2 separate regions of the Homo sapiens genome follow, and region 1 is linked to region 2. The links are contacts of gene promoters, found by promoter capture Hi-C in blood cells and fetal thymus (Javierre and others, 2016). All regions are on one chromosome and are shown on one strand. Each heading gives the region's core, a stretch centred on a gene start or on the middle of the fragment in contact. The rest is flanking DNA. Distances are from core to core; before and after follow the strand shown. Region 1 overlaps LOC107985960 (a long non-coding RNA gene). Region 2 holds the start of ITGA6-AS1 (ITGA6 and PDK1 antisense RNA 1).

Region 1 (7,233 bases), core at 795-3,294, 180 kb after region 2:
AGGAAGGAAAATTGAGAGTCATGATTGTCATCCAATCCAAGCTCGGTAAAAACCATTTGATAATGGTCTATTTATAGAGACATGTAGGATGGTCATTAGGAACAGAGCCCAGGGATCAGGCCCCAGCTCTGATGGATTTTGTGAGAGACACTCACCAGTTTAGGAAAATCATTTAATCTATTGGTACTTCAAATTGGATCACCAATAAGAATGAGTAAGACCTGTATACATGTACCCTAAAACTTAAAGTATACATGAAAAAAAAGGTTCTAAAGCAAAAAAATAAAAATAAAGGTTGGATGCTAAATTAAACAAAAAAAAAGAATGAGTAAGACCTATGGAATTTTATATCAGAGGGAAAAAACAGGAAGAGTCCATACATTTAGTTTGAAATAGTCATTATTTCCTTTTGATTTAAAAATTAAACCACATTGTCAAGGAACAATAAATCAGCCTATTTATTTATTTATTTATGCCTAATTCATGTTGCCTACTGAGGATCAGTAGGTGTTCTGATTTCTGAGCTAATACTCTATCTGAATGAAAATTTGGGTTTTGCTCATGGAAAGCCAACTCCTGGCAGGCCTATACTTAACTCAGAACTCACCTCTGTGCCCCTCAAGTCATTTGCTTACTTCCCTTGTTATAGAAACAATGGAAGTTATTTCTTAGCAAGCGAGAAAAGTTCTGGAATATAAATTGTAGACTGTGGTTGCTATTAAGCCATGAACAGTTCGTCCTTTAGAAGGTAGAGGAAGGACATGGAGGAGAGGGAGAGCCAAGAGATCAGCCAAGAAGCACGGTCACTGCTCCAGTGTAAAATTGGGATCTAAAGAGTTTGAGAGTTCATTAGAATCACAGCATAGAATCTTTTGAGCTATATGCACACCTATGGTTTATACCACCAAAATGCCAAAAATCTTCTGCATAGTGCAAGCTGACTGAGTAAATGATTTAATGTGATTCTCACTCCACCTTGGGAAGTCAACAGATAAGGTACTGACAGTTATGTCCATTTCATGGGAGAGGAACAGATGCTCATACAGAACAGATAGTATCCAGGGGAGCTTTATTTCCAGGGAATGATTCTGCCTGTAAGGTTTTCCGGCCACTAAATAGTGGAGCCAGTACCTAATTCAGGCCCTCTGATTGTTAGCCTTGTTCCTTCAAACTGCAGGACATCACAACCACCACGCCCACCTTCCAAAATGAAAGTCTCTTTTCAAACATAAAAGCCACAATATGAGCTATGGCAGCCATTGAGAGGTACATCCTTTCCTCTGTGAAATTTCACTCAGGAACAGCCCTATAACATCACAAAATTTAGGAATGAAAATAATCTCTAGTCTAATATACTTGTTTTATGAACAGATAAGGAAACTGAGGCACAGAGGGGCTAAGTAACTTGTCTCAAAATCACACAGCTGCATTACTTGTTGCGTTGGTTAACTGAAATGTTAAGATCAGTTCAGTCATTCCACAGTTTACAAGAAATAATTAGAAGGCATCCCATTTACAGAATATAAACCTGATCAGCCGGGTGCGGTCGCTCACGCCTGTAATTCCAGCACTTTGGGAGGCTGAGGCGGGCAGATCACTTGAGGTTGGGATTTCCAGACCAGCCTGGCCAACATGGTCAAACCCCGTCTCTACTGAAATACAAAAATTAACCAGCCGTTGTGTTGGAGGGGCAGCTGAGGCATAAGAATCGCTTGAACCTGGGAGGAGGAGGTTGCAGTGAACCAAGATCATGCCACTGCGCTCCAGCCTGGGTGAAGAGTGAGACGAGAGAGAGAGAGACAGAGCGAGAGCGAGAGAATGAGAGAGAGAGAGCAAGGAAGGAAGGAAGGAAACTAAACCAAACAGTAGTTCAAAAAAAAGTTAAGTGATTTGCGGAGATCAAAAGGAAGGAAGGAAAGAAACAATAGTGCAAAACAAGTAATTTGCAGAGATCACAGAAGTGGAGGGACAGCAGGATTTGAAACCAGGCTGATCTGACTCCAAACTACCCGACCTCACCCACACCAACAGCATGTTGTGCCAGCAGCCTTTTGTGCCCCTGTGGAAGAGCAGGATAGGGGCACTGCACAGGTTTCATTCACTGGAAGGGAGAACTTCTTGCCCACAAATAAGCACCTTGGACTCAGCTAAATCCAGAGAACTCTTAGTCTCACCTAATCCAAAACTGCTAGATTTCAAATCCCAAAGGACTCATTTTGCCTCTCAGCAGGCCCAGCACAGACACGTAGCCCTGACAGTTTGCACTGAGGATTCCAGATTCCAGAATGGAGCCCAGCTGTGCAAAGCCACTGAAGCTGTGACTGGCAGCCGCACTCACTGACCTTCTCAAAGGCCTCTGTGCTCCCAGGCCTGGAAGAGCATTATTTTAGGGATAATGGCTGACAGCTGCTGCAGCCTCGTGGGTGCCCAGCCCCTGTCCACCACATCCTTAGGAATCTTGGTGGTTCCAGGCTTTCTGGCCCAGAGTAACCAGCTACTGGAATCCTGGAGTTACTTCATTAAACTGGTTTCAAGTTACATGCTTTCTTTTATAGGACTGGGGGGAAATGAAACCTGCCAGCCTATTGTCTGTGCTGTACATAACCACTTCTTTCTTGGTGAAATTTCTCCCAGCTCCTGTGTCCCCATCCTGAGTGCAGTAGGGAAGTAGCAAAAGAATTGGTTTTGCCAAATAAAGTTTAAAATGTTGGCCAAGACCAGTGTCGTGCCCCTGTTGCCTCAGCAACCAAGCTGAGGCAGGAGGATCGCTTGAGGCCAGGAGTTTGAAGCCAGTCTAGACAATAGAGCAGGACCCTGTCTCTACAAAATATTTATTAAAAAATTAGTGGCCATGGTGGTATGCACTGTAGTCCTAGCTACTCAGGAGGCTGGTGTAGGAGAATCACTTGAGCCCAGGAGTTCAAGGCTACAGTGAGCTATGATTGCACCGCTGCACTCCAGCCTGGGGAACAAAGTGAGACCCCATCCCATAAATAAAACAGTCTCTACTTTCTGAGTATTTTGTTCCCCACTGCACTCTTGCAGGCTGAGTGTTTCATCGAGTTCCACAGTGCCTTTGCATATCTTATGCATATCTAGAGGACAAGACACCATAAGAGAGTGCCTCCTGTTTTCAGTTTTTGTCATTATCATTAGCCTTCCAATGGTCAACTGCCAAATAGGCCACTTTGAAGTAGGTTTGCCCTCTTTCTCTCCTTTTTTAAACTCAGATGTGCATAGGTAGAATGGCTGAAATGACTCTTTAGAAGAATGTGTTCTTTCCATGCTAAATGCCTCAGATCTCAGCTAATCTTGCAGAGCTGGACAGGATCTTTGAACAGGTTAATGTAGTGGTTGGGAAAATCTCCCCCTGGGGAAATTCCTCAGTCCTCTGACAGCCAGCATCTGCGCAGGCGAGGGCACATACCCCTTTGGGGCAGTCTTGGAGTGTTCTCCTCCCTTGGTGGATTCACAGAGTGCAAGGGGTACCACAGAAGGAGCTGAAGGCTCCTGTCACTCTCCCATAAAACCCCTCCACCGATGCAGCATGGGGCATGACATCATTAGGGGAGAAGATGGGAACGGGATGATTTGGATTCAGGCAACTGGGGTCAAATCCCACCTCCACTGCTCACTCGGTAGGCAACATTAGTATATCCCTGAACCTCTCTGTGCCTCAGTTTACACATCTGTAAAACAGGAATAATAATACCTGCTGCACAATATGGCTATGGTTTTGTAAATGATACAGCACTATTATCCATAATAGTAGTAACCTTAAGGAGATGCTGAAGACTCTTTTCAGATTTGTCCCAGTGCTTACATCTACTACATTTAAGGGGAGTAGGTTTGAAGATAAATTTCATTATCCTTGTCATCACTGATACCTTCATGAGTCAAGCACCAGAAGTAGACTCGGCACCAGATGAAACATGGTCATCAAAATTATCCCTGAAAGGCCAGTTGGTCAAGATATTTCAGACATCAAAAATATGCCCCCCGGCCCCACCCCCGAGGCCTCAGCTGCATCACATTCCTTCACTTGGACCCGCCTGCAGACCACACAGTATCTCAGGGCAATTTCACACTCTCTCTACCGACTGCCTCTTGCTATCTGGATTGCACACTCAGGCAGCCTGATTCCTGTCTGGTCAACCACATAGAAACCAAGGGAATGAGAGCTAATGTAATTGGTTGAAGTCATTTCCAGAAATATGCTATTGGGGACATATCGAGAAGGTATCTGGGTTCTAAACAGGAAATCATAATAATCAGACTAATGCAGCATCCAAATTACTTCAGGGAAAACAATTGTTACAAAATCAAACTACAGACATACCAAGCTCCTCATCAGAAATAGAAAGAAGCTTCCTTTTTCATTACACCTCTTTTTTCCAGCAAATTTCTTGCTCATTCTAGAATGAATCTTGACTATTCACAATCCCTATCATTGTTCCTGAAATAACACCCTCATTAATTATGCCTACTCTGAAATACAGTTTAACCTGTTTTATAGTTAACAGCAGCCTTAACATACAGTCCCAAGTGAACCGTGTAGAGAGCCTCAGAATTACAAACGTAAAGTGACGGCAAAGGAAGAAAATATATATGCCTTCTAACTGACTCAGAAATGGGCTTCCCACACCCCCTGCAGTCATGTGCCACACAGTGACATCAGGCAACAACAGACTGCATGTATGATGGTGATGCCATAGGATTAGAATAGAGCTGGAAAATTCCTATCCCCTGATGACATATTGATGATCCTGACCCCGATGATTAAGCCCGGGCTAATGTGTGTGTAGTTGTCTTAGTTTTTAACAAAAAAGTTTAAAAGTAAAAATAATAATAATAAAATTTAATGAAAAAAATGTATAGAATAAGGATATAAAGAAAATATTTTTGCATAGCTGTATAATGCCTTTGTGTTTAAAGCTAAGTGTTATTCCAAAAGAAGTTAAAAACATTAAAAAGCTTATAAAGTGAAAAAGTTACAGTAAGCTAAGGTTAATTTATTATTGAAGAAAGAAGAGTTTTAAAATAAATTTAAGCCAGGCACAGTGGCTCACGCCTCTAATCCCAGCACTTTGGGAGGCCAAGGCAGGCGGATCACTTGAGGTCAAGAGTTTGAGACCAGCCTGGCCAACATGGTGAAAGCTCATTTCTACTAAAAATACAAAAATTAGCCAGGCATGGTGGTGGGCAACTGTAAGCCCAGCTACTAGGGAGGCTGAGGCAGGAGAATCACTTGAACCCAGGAGGCAGAGGTTGCAGTGAGCGAAGATCATGCCACTGCACTCCAGCCTGAATGACAGAGTGAGACTGTCTCAAAAAAAGTAAAATGAATTTAGTGTAGCCTGAGTGTGCTGTGTTTATAAAGTCTACAGTAATGTACAGTAATGTCCCAGGCCCTCACAATCACTCACCACTTACTCACTGACTCACCCAGAGCAACTTCCAGTCCTGTAAGCTCCACTTATGGTAAGTGTCCTTACAAGTATATCATTTTTTATCTTTTATACCATAACCTTCTCTATGTTTAGATACACAAATACTGATCATTGTGTTACAACTGCCTATGGTATATTCAGTACAGTAACATGCTGTACAGTTTTATAGCCTAGGAGCAATAGGCTATACCACACAGCCCAGGTGTATAGTAGGCAGTACCATCTAGAGCTATGCAAGTACACTCTATGATGTTTGCACAAAGAAATCGCCTGACAATGCACTTCATAGAACATATCTACATTGTTAAGTGACACACAGTTGCATTTCAGCACTCCATGCCCTACTTCTTTATATATATATTAATAGCTTCGAGGGAATGGGTAGTCATTTAGCATTAATAAGCAATGAAAAGTGGAATCTTTTTCTTGTTTCAGAAAGTGACAGTAAGCAGTCTAGAAAATGTGGACAAGATGGAGGAAAGGAAAGAGTGAAGGGAAGAAGGGAGAGTAGAAAGGAAAACCAAGATAACTTTCCTCATGTCCTGAATCTGATGAGCTCAGACTGTCTGGCACATGCCCTTCAGGTAGGTGATAGGGCAGTGTTGGGCTGATTCTGGGAAAACTCTCCTCTACAGAACTCAGGTGTCTTTAATACAGTGTAGTCCATTTTGTTCTTTTTTCTTCTGTTTCTTAGCGATGGGTTTGCCTTTTTAGGGGTTGGCTGGAAACGAGTACATTATCATCGACCACTGACAAAGCAACAGGAGGACATCTTCTGTCCCTGGGCACACGCTGGTTACCCATCAATCACTTTTTATTGACCTTGAACTAAGATCCATAAATTCAAAAACTGCAATTTAAAAATTTTATAGGCAAACTAATGGAATATCAACTTCTACAAGGCTGATTCTTCAATAACACACTTGAAGGACATAGTCCCCTGCCAGGGATGGAGCTCTGTTTGCTGATTTTTCACTAAGGGAAGGGAGGAAGGAACACTTAGTGAGCCTCCAGTGTGTGCCAGGCACCATATGGGGTGCTTTACATATATGATACCAAATCTAAGTTGCCACCAACTGTAACACGCCCAGCAGGAAAGCAAACCTACTGCCGATTAATTGAAAGATGCCATCCAGGGTGTATTTACTGGGAAGCTAAGAGAGTTTCAGCCTCAGGGCCCTTCATTTGCATGGGCCCTTCCAATGTTCTTGGAGAGGGGCCAGCAGTGTGTTCACGTGGCCATATATTTTTGTAAAATTTGCAAAAGATATTTTAACTGCAATCAATTAGACCACTGTCTCTTTCCACTCTGACTTCCCCTCTGTCACACTTCCCCTTATGTGGGTGGCACTGGAGTGGCTATGGGCAACTTGGGGATCCTATTAAAGGGGAAGTTGAGCTGGGGATACATTTAGTCTGGGTTCAGTGGGACGTTTGTATGTGGTCTGTGCAGTTAACTTACTGCTGGGCATGCTGGGATAGAAATGGCTTCACCGCTTCTCCCCTCCACCACACTAGCTCTCCTGGCAGTAAGAAGCTCCAGTGCAGGGCTCCAGGCTGTATCCAATATAAATACATCCCACCACACTCGCCAGCAGCATATGGCCTGGGCAGCAGAAAATAAACAAGGTGTGAAGTGTGTGAGCCAGAATTTGGTCTGTGGAAAATTTTCCCAAATCTCATAGTTCATATAGGAAAGAAACTTCATAGAGGTTTTCCCCAAATTTGACAAAAAAAACTCTCAAGATTTATATGACATTACCAAAAACAGTTGTGAAGCTGG
Region 2 (6,486 bases), core at 71-2,570:
AAAATTACTTGTCATCTCAAGGAAACAGAGATGTGGTTTTTGGAATCTTTCAAACATTTGAAACATAAAGTACTTAGCTCTATATAGTTGCCTATTTTGTCCAACAATACCCTTTGCCCTCTCTTGATACCTAGGGTCCTGAATGCAGAAGGTAAGTGAAACTGTAAGACTAAGGGAGCCCTCCAAAATACATCTCTTAAGGCAACAATGTAAAATCTAGTATTCCAAACTGCAGCTACCATCCAAACTAACAAAAAAAATGGGTACTTCTCTATATACTCCCCAATTTTTTTATTTAACAGCATTAAATGTTCTCTTCTTTACTGGAGATGGAAGAAAAAGACTCAGATTTACTTTAGGATCTTGTAGCTGACAATGTATCAATGCCAAACAGGAGAGTTACTGTTAGTCAGAGAGACGGGGACCACAAACACCACCAGGTGCTCATTTCAGTATCAATTTAAACCCACTGTGTGACCTATATCCAAATTTTGCACTCCTCCATAAGTAGCAATACAGACACAGGTTTTAATCTTGAATCATTACAAAAACATTAAACAACTTTAGACAGAAGGAAAAATGCCAAAATGTTAAAAAATAAGTCTAGATACTGAGATTGCCAGTGGGTTTTTTTATTCTTCATAGGTCTGTGTATTTTACCAGCTTCTTAAAATTAACACATATTAGTTTCTAATAAAAGAACACATGTTATTTCTTTTCTTGAGATGGTATCTTGCTCTGTCACCCAGGCTGGAGTGTAGTGGCACGATTTTGGCTCACTGCAGCCTCTGCCTCCCAGGTTCAAACAATTCTCACGCCTCAGCCTCCTAAGTAGCTAGGACTACAGGCGTACACCACCACGCCTGGCTAATTTTTGTATTTTTAGTAGAGATGGGGTTTCACCATGTTGGCCAGGCTGGTCTTGAACTCCTGACCTCAAATGATCCACCCAACTCGGCCTCCCAAAATGCTAGGATTACAGGTGTGAGCCACCGACGCCTGGCCAACAAATGTTATTTCTAAAAGATGAAGAAGCAAGAGAAGAACATAGACACGAATCTGCAAATCTACTTAGACCGAACATATCAAACGAGGTTTGGCTAGAGCTTCTCAGTACACTAATTGCTCTGCTCAACCTACAAGAAGCCAGGTACACTGGATGTCAACATGCCTACCTCATGGTATCTTCTACCTATCCAGAGCCCTTAACAAAACAAGTCTCTATCTGAGACAGGAGGGAAAACTTTATCTCTGTTAGCCAGCTCTCATTCCAAAGGGGTCTGATATTTAAAACTGTCTTTCTCCCAAATATTTTAACAGCATGTGAGAACTTTTGGCTGATGAATACAAGATACGCTCATTCATTCTCTTCATTGCTATGAAATGAGTTTTTCCACAACCTCCTGCAGAACCTCAACACATCACTAGGTGGCAACATCCCTACACCATATCGGTTTAGAAACCACGGTTAGGAGGAGCAGCAAAACACGCGGCATCCCAGTATGATTCAGAAGTAAAGTAAGTAAATATTTTCAGGGCAAATAAAAAACAGTCAAGTCTGATGCAATTAAAAGAAGTCCTCTCTACAAGAATAAATGTTTGTCCCCACTCTCCTCCCTCATGGAAACAGTACAGGCAAGCTGCCGGAGTGAACGCTGAGTGAGGGAAAGGAACGCACCATCGTTATCAAACTCGATCCGCGTGCATGGCCCCCGGGCGGTGATGTCGCAGCTGTACAGCCCTCCCGTTCTGTTGGCTCTCTGCAGTGGAAGCGCTTCTGCCCGCGGGGCCCCCACGAGCAACCTGTTGATGAAACAGAGACAATTTGGAGATTTGAATTTAATATACGTTTAACAGTTAAATCAGTCAGAACTAGGAGATAGTGGGATTATTCTTTGTCTAGGAGTCCACTAATTCTTCAACAGCTTAGGCAGTGAGTGAGAACAAATGTAGAGTCCTATGGCTGGTTCATGCAAAACGCACAAACACAACTAAACAGGGGAAGCCAAAGAGGGGATACCAAAACGAGGAAAATAGGCCTGTCTCTCATAGTATCAGCATTTCTTGCTGGGTATGATCTGGTGTTTAAAAGACACCCTCTTCAAAGAATACAACCTCTAAGCCCCTATGATGCCAGGGATATCATATGAAACTCAAGAGAAGAAACCAAATACTTGTGACAATGGAAGGAAAAAATGGCCACACTAAATGTAATAAGCAATAATATGTCAGTTTCTAACACTGTGCCTTCCTGAGGTAGTTTTCAAGGGTAATTCTGACTATATCTTAGATTTTCAGTTTATATACTAATTGAGAGAACCTAATGGTAAGTAAGATACAACTCGACTGAATTATTCACTTGCAGCCTTGGCCTCTTTCCAATTCTTTTTTTTTTTTCCCTCCAGTTTTATTAGGGTAGAATGGACAAATAAAAAGCAGATATATTTGAGGTGTACAAGTTGATGTTTGTTCTTCCAAGTCAGTTCTTACTTCCTTGCACTTTTGTCACATTACAAGAGTTCGTCCTCTCTCATCCTATCAGTCTCCCACAAAGGATTCAGGGACAACTGGTGTAGCTCCACTTATGTACTAGGCACTGTAATATTCCTTCTTCTCCCCAGCCGAGTGTTTTTATCTCCTATAAGGAGGCCCCCAGTCCAAATCCACAGTCCTTAAAATTTCACCATCTCACAGCTTGACAGGCTCTTTAGAGATCCAATGACCTTGTTGCTAGGTCTCTTTTGCTAACACCTTTACTCACCATCAGGTTTACAATCTTTGAGGCCTGGCTGACTCATGGAACAACTAGGACAAGAAACAAAGACAAAGAACACACACCTGACTGGACAGAGATAAACCAAGAGCTGAGAGTTTTGGAAACAAGGCTGGAGCTGAGGAAAAGGACTGGGAACACGAACCTGTACAAACAACAAATTCTTACAACAGAAAACAAGCCACTCCTGGCCATCAAGAAACCCACAAATCTCAGAAGCAAAAGCAAAACAAATGAAAATACAAACCAAATAGTCTCTATTACCTTCATGCCTGTTGGGTCCCAATAAAGGAATCATTCCAATAAAGGATTCAACATATTTTTTTTAAACCAATATCATGCAGCAGGTGCCACCGGAGGCAAGTGTACCTGGAAAGCAGGGAGGGGGGCCAGATGATGCCCAGACAGAGAAGGAGGGGTGGCTCATGGATAACACATAGCCCCAGCACTGTCCTTCCTCCCAGATCCCTGGACAGTCACAGTCAGCCCCCACCTCCAAACCCACCCTACATTTGAAGGAACAAAACAGCACACACCAAGGTACAGAACTGACACACAGACTTTTAAATTAGGAACTGGAGCAGTGTCCTTGGTGCCTGAACCTTCTTGACAGAGGACAGAGGCAAGGCCGGGGCCACAAGGGTCCCCACAGGTCTGCTCCACTCCTATTCCAGTGATGTCCCCGATCCCAGGAATGCCAACAAACAAGTACCTGGGAGGTGAACTGCCTAGACTATAAGGTGAATGTGTTAAATTACTGTACTTGGCAGATGTCAGAGGTGGAGTCATGTGGAGGGTGCTGGAAGGGATAAGTGGGGTGCCAGGATCAGAGGCCCAGAACCCCAGGACTTTCACACTGGAAGCCCCTGAGAGAGACCAGTCCTCCAGTTTTACAGATAAAGAAACAGAGGCCTTGAGGAGCTTAATTACTCATCCCCCAAGATCTCACAGCTAGTGGGTGGCCATGACAAAAATTATCTTGGTGCAATGTTGTCTCCATTTCTTTACAAAGCTGCTTAGGAAGTAAAACCCAGGATTTCAAGTTTACAACCTAGTTGAAAGGGCAAAACTTACACAAATAAAACATCACAACCAAAACTGTTCTGTATGCTGATAAAAGTTAAGATAATAGAGCCAAGTAGAGGGGAAGGAAGAAAAGCATTATTGCAGTTGGGTGGAGTGAAGGCTGGGTAAGAGATTTCCTGTAAAGGTAACCACCAGCAAAGAGAAGCCTAGAAAAAGCAGCACAGGAGTCCCATTGTCTTAACTGTGTGTCTTCCTAACCACTTCCTCTTCTCACCCACACCCAAGGTGGCTACTAAGTTACCTAAGGCAGGCACAGGGCTTATTTCCTGTTTATCCCATTCCCACATTCGTTCACCTATTCACTCAACAAACGCTGATTAAGAGCCTCCTAGGATGAATAAGGAATTGCCCCCACTCCTCAATCTCTGGCCTGGGGAAGCCTGATCCGTGAACAGGTCATGAGGTCATGAAACCACAGGGAGCTAGAGGCAATGAGAGGATGGTACAGAGTGCTGTGGGCACCAGCACCTGCTGGAGAGGAAGGGAGGATGTCACTAAGAGATGACAGCGGGACTGGAGGTGGCCAGGTAAGGAACACAGCATATGCAAAGGCTGCAAGGGAAGGAGCCAGAGAAAAGGGAGAAGAGGGACACAATGGGTGACAAGAAGGGGTCGAGGATCAGCAGCCTGGTCAGCAGCGCTAAAGGACGAAGGGTCAGAGACCCTCTGAACCCCAGGCTTCTGTAGCCTGCTGTGTCCTGCAGGGTACAGCTGCTTTTGGGTGTCCTGTGGTTTAAAAAGCTGTGGAGGTTGTCCCATTTACATGCCCAGTCCCTCAGAGTGGGTTGGCTTCCCTCAGCCTCTATCTGCCACTTGTTCTCCACTCTCTGTAACTAATACGTGTGGGACAAAGAATAGGCATTTAACTCGAATTTGTTGGCTGGTTACAGGGGCTGTGGTGACAAAATTTCACAAATGCCCACACCAAGCTCTTGCAGAAGAGGTCCTCGTGTCTTACATGCGGCGGCTACTGCAGATGACAGCAGACCACATGGCAGGATGGGGGCAGCAGGCTGGTTTGGGGAAAAAGGACAACAGATTCGAAAAGAGACCTGCAAACGACAAGAGAAATGTACCCACAGAGAATAACGTTAGCTGTTGCACCGCCTCTGGGCGAGCTCAGCCTGCACATGGTCCTGGCACTGTCCTTCCTCCACCTCAGGTGGTCCCACAGGGGATGGAGGAAGCAGGAGTGTTCCACCGCCCCTTGCAAATCCCCTGGGCAGCCGTGGGAGGAAGAGCTGACACCCAGCAGCAGAGGGCGCCCCTGCTCCAGTTGCGCCCGGTCTCCTGGGACCCACCGCGATAAGGTGGCAGAACCCATCACCGAAAGGTAAGGTAAAGCTACACCTTGATGAGAGAACACAGTAACCCCAACCACATTCAGCAACTGGAGGCGCCTTCATCCTCAAGGTAAAGCTGCCCTCCCTGGTTTGGGAAACAAGCAAAGGCTCTTAATTCGCCTGGAACCAGCCTTAAAGGCAGGAGATCACAGCCCATTAGCTGAGGCTGTGCCTAGCAGGAACAATAAATAAGGTAAATAGAGCTGTGTCCAAACAATGACAGCAGAGAACAACCTATCTACTTCCTAATCTAGGTCATTTAGGGTCTGGGTGCTGGTCTAAGCTGTTCAGGACATGGTTGGCTCCTGAGCTAGCAGAGTGGGTACAGGTCCAGGAGGGACAGTCTACACCTAGGAGGACCCTCAGCCCACACAAAATCCAATTTATGCTCAAATTCCAGCTTTCTTCCCTTTCCCTCCAAGGCCCTTAAATGCCAAAAACTGGGCCCAGGCCACCCAGATGGTTCAGTGTGAAAAGCAGGTACTCTCTGGGCACTACCAGGATGCTCACAGCAACTCCTAGGACCAGGGCAGCTGCAGCACTCATTACTGACCATCCCAGTACGTTTGAAGGAGGAAAGAGCTATGTGACAACTCGACCTTCAGAGCCACAGGGACCAAGGGATATGAGTTAGGGCCTTTGTAGGGAGGTGATAGAAATTAACAGAGCAGAGCCTGAGAGGTCTATTCCCATATGCGGTCAAGGCAAGAAAAACTAAACAAAGGGCAAGAATCTGGGTGTGAACTAAGATCATTTCAAAACCGGCCAGTGGACAATGACCTCCACTGAATTTTAAAGCTGCACCGAAATAAAAACTGCCTTGGGATTTCAGCATATCAGAAACCCACACTTAAAAGGCAAAACTCAAAACCACAAAATCATCTTTAACGATAAGAAATAAACACTGAGATACTAAAATGGAATGTAAAAATCTAACGATATAAGTATAACAGTAACTGGGAATATGATATAAATTCAGGTCTTTGGAGTCTAATCAGAGCTCTGGGCACAGAGACTCAGGACTCACTATCATGCTATGAACACAAGGTTATTTCAAAATTCTTCAAGTAAGCCACATCCGTTTCATATATTCAAGTTCTCCCCCAAAGAGAGCTGGTATACTTTTGCATAAATACTTCAAATCAAAAGTTCTAAACACTGGGACACTTTTAAAACTCCAAGAACAATGGCAGCTTTGCTTCACTGTCTTTGGCAATAATTCATTTCCTCAAGGATTAAAGATTCTGCCCCTAGCTATGCAAGCTGGTCAGAGGAAACATGAAA

What was found. The method cuts DNA at HindIII sites, captures the fragments that hold promoters and counts their contacts. A CHiCAGO score of 5 or more calls a contact.
Region 1: a contact is called between a fragment that was not itself captured here and the fragment with the promoter of ITGA6-AS1 in region 2, in 5 of 17 cell types (megakaryocytes, endothelial precursors, M2 macrophages and 2 more). The highest score is 11.6, in megakaryocytes.

Annotation. Positions count from the first base shown.
Region 1 is chr2:172,280,560-172,287,792 of GRCh38, reverse strand. It overlaps LOC107985960 (a long non-coding RNA gene), which reads right to left. Exons shown (of 6, transcript XR_001739773.3): 2 at 6,913-7,056. Among named protein-coding and RNA genes, the nearest start is that of ITGA6, 140 kb to the left of the region's middle. The HindIII fragment of the contact is 4,651 bases long and covers 1-4,369 here.
Region 2 is chr2:172,460,856-172,467,341 of GRCh38, reverse strand. It overlaps ITGA6-AS1 (ITGA6 and PDK1 antisense RNA 1), which reads left to right and starts at 1,320. Exons shown (of 2, transcript NR_157573.1): 1 at 1,320-1,518; 2 at 2,768-3,080. It overlaps ITGA6 (integrin subunit alpha 6), which reads right to left. Exons shown (of 26, transcript NM_000210.4): 2 at 1,679-1,803. PDK1-AS1 (PDK1 and ITGA6 antisense RNA 1) reads left to right here. Exons shown (of 4, transcript NR_199657.1): 4 at 2,768-3,076. RefSeq lists an enhancer at 910-1,079. The HindIII fragment of the contact is 13,641 bases long and covers 1-6,486 here.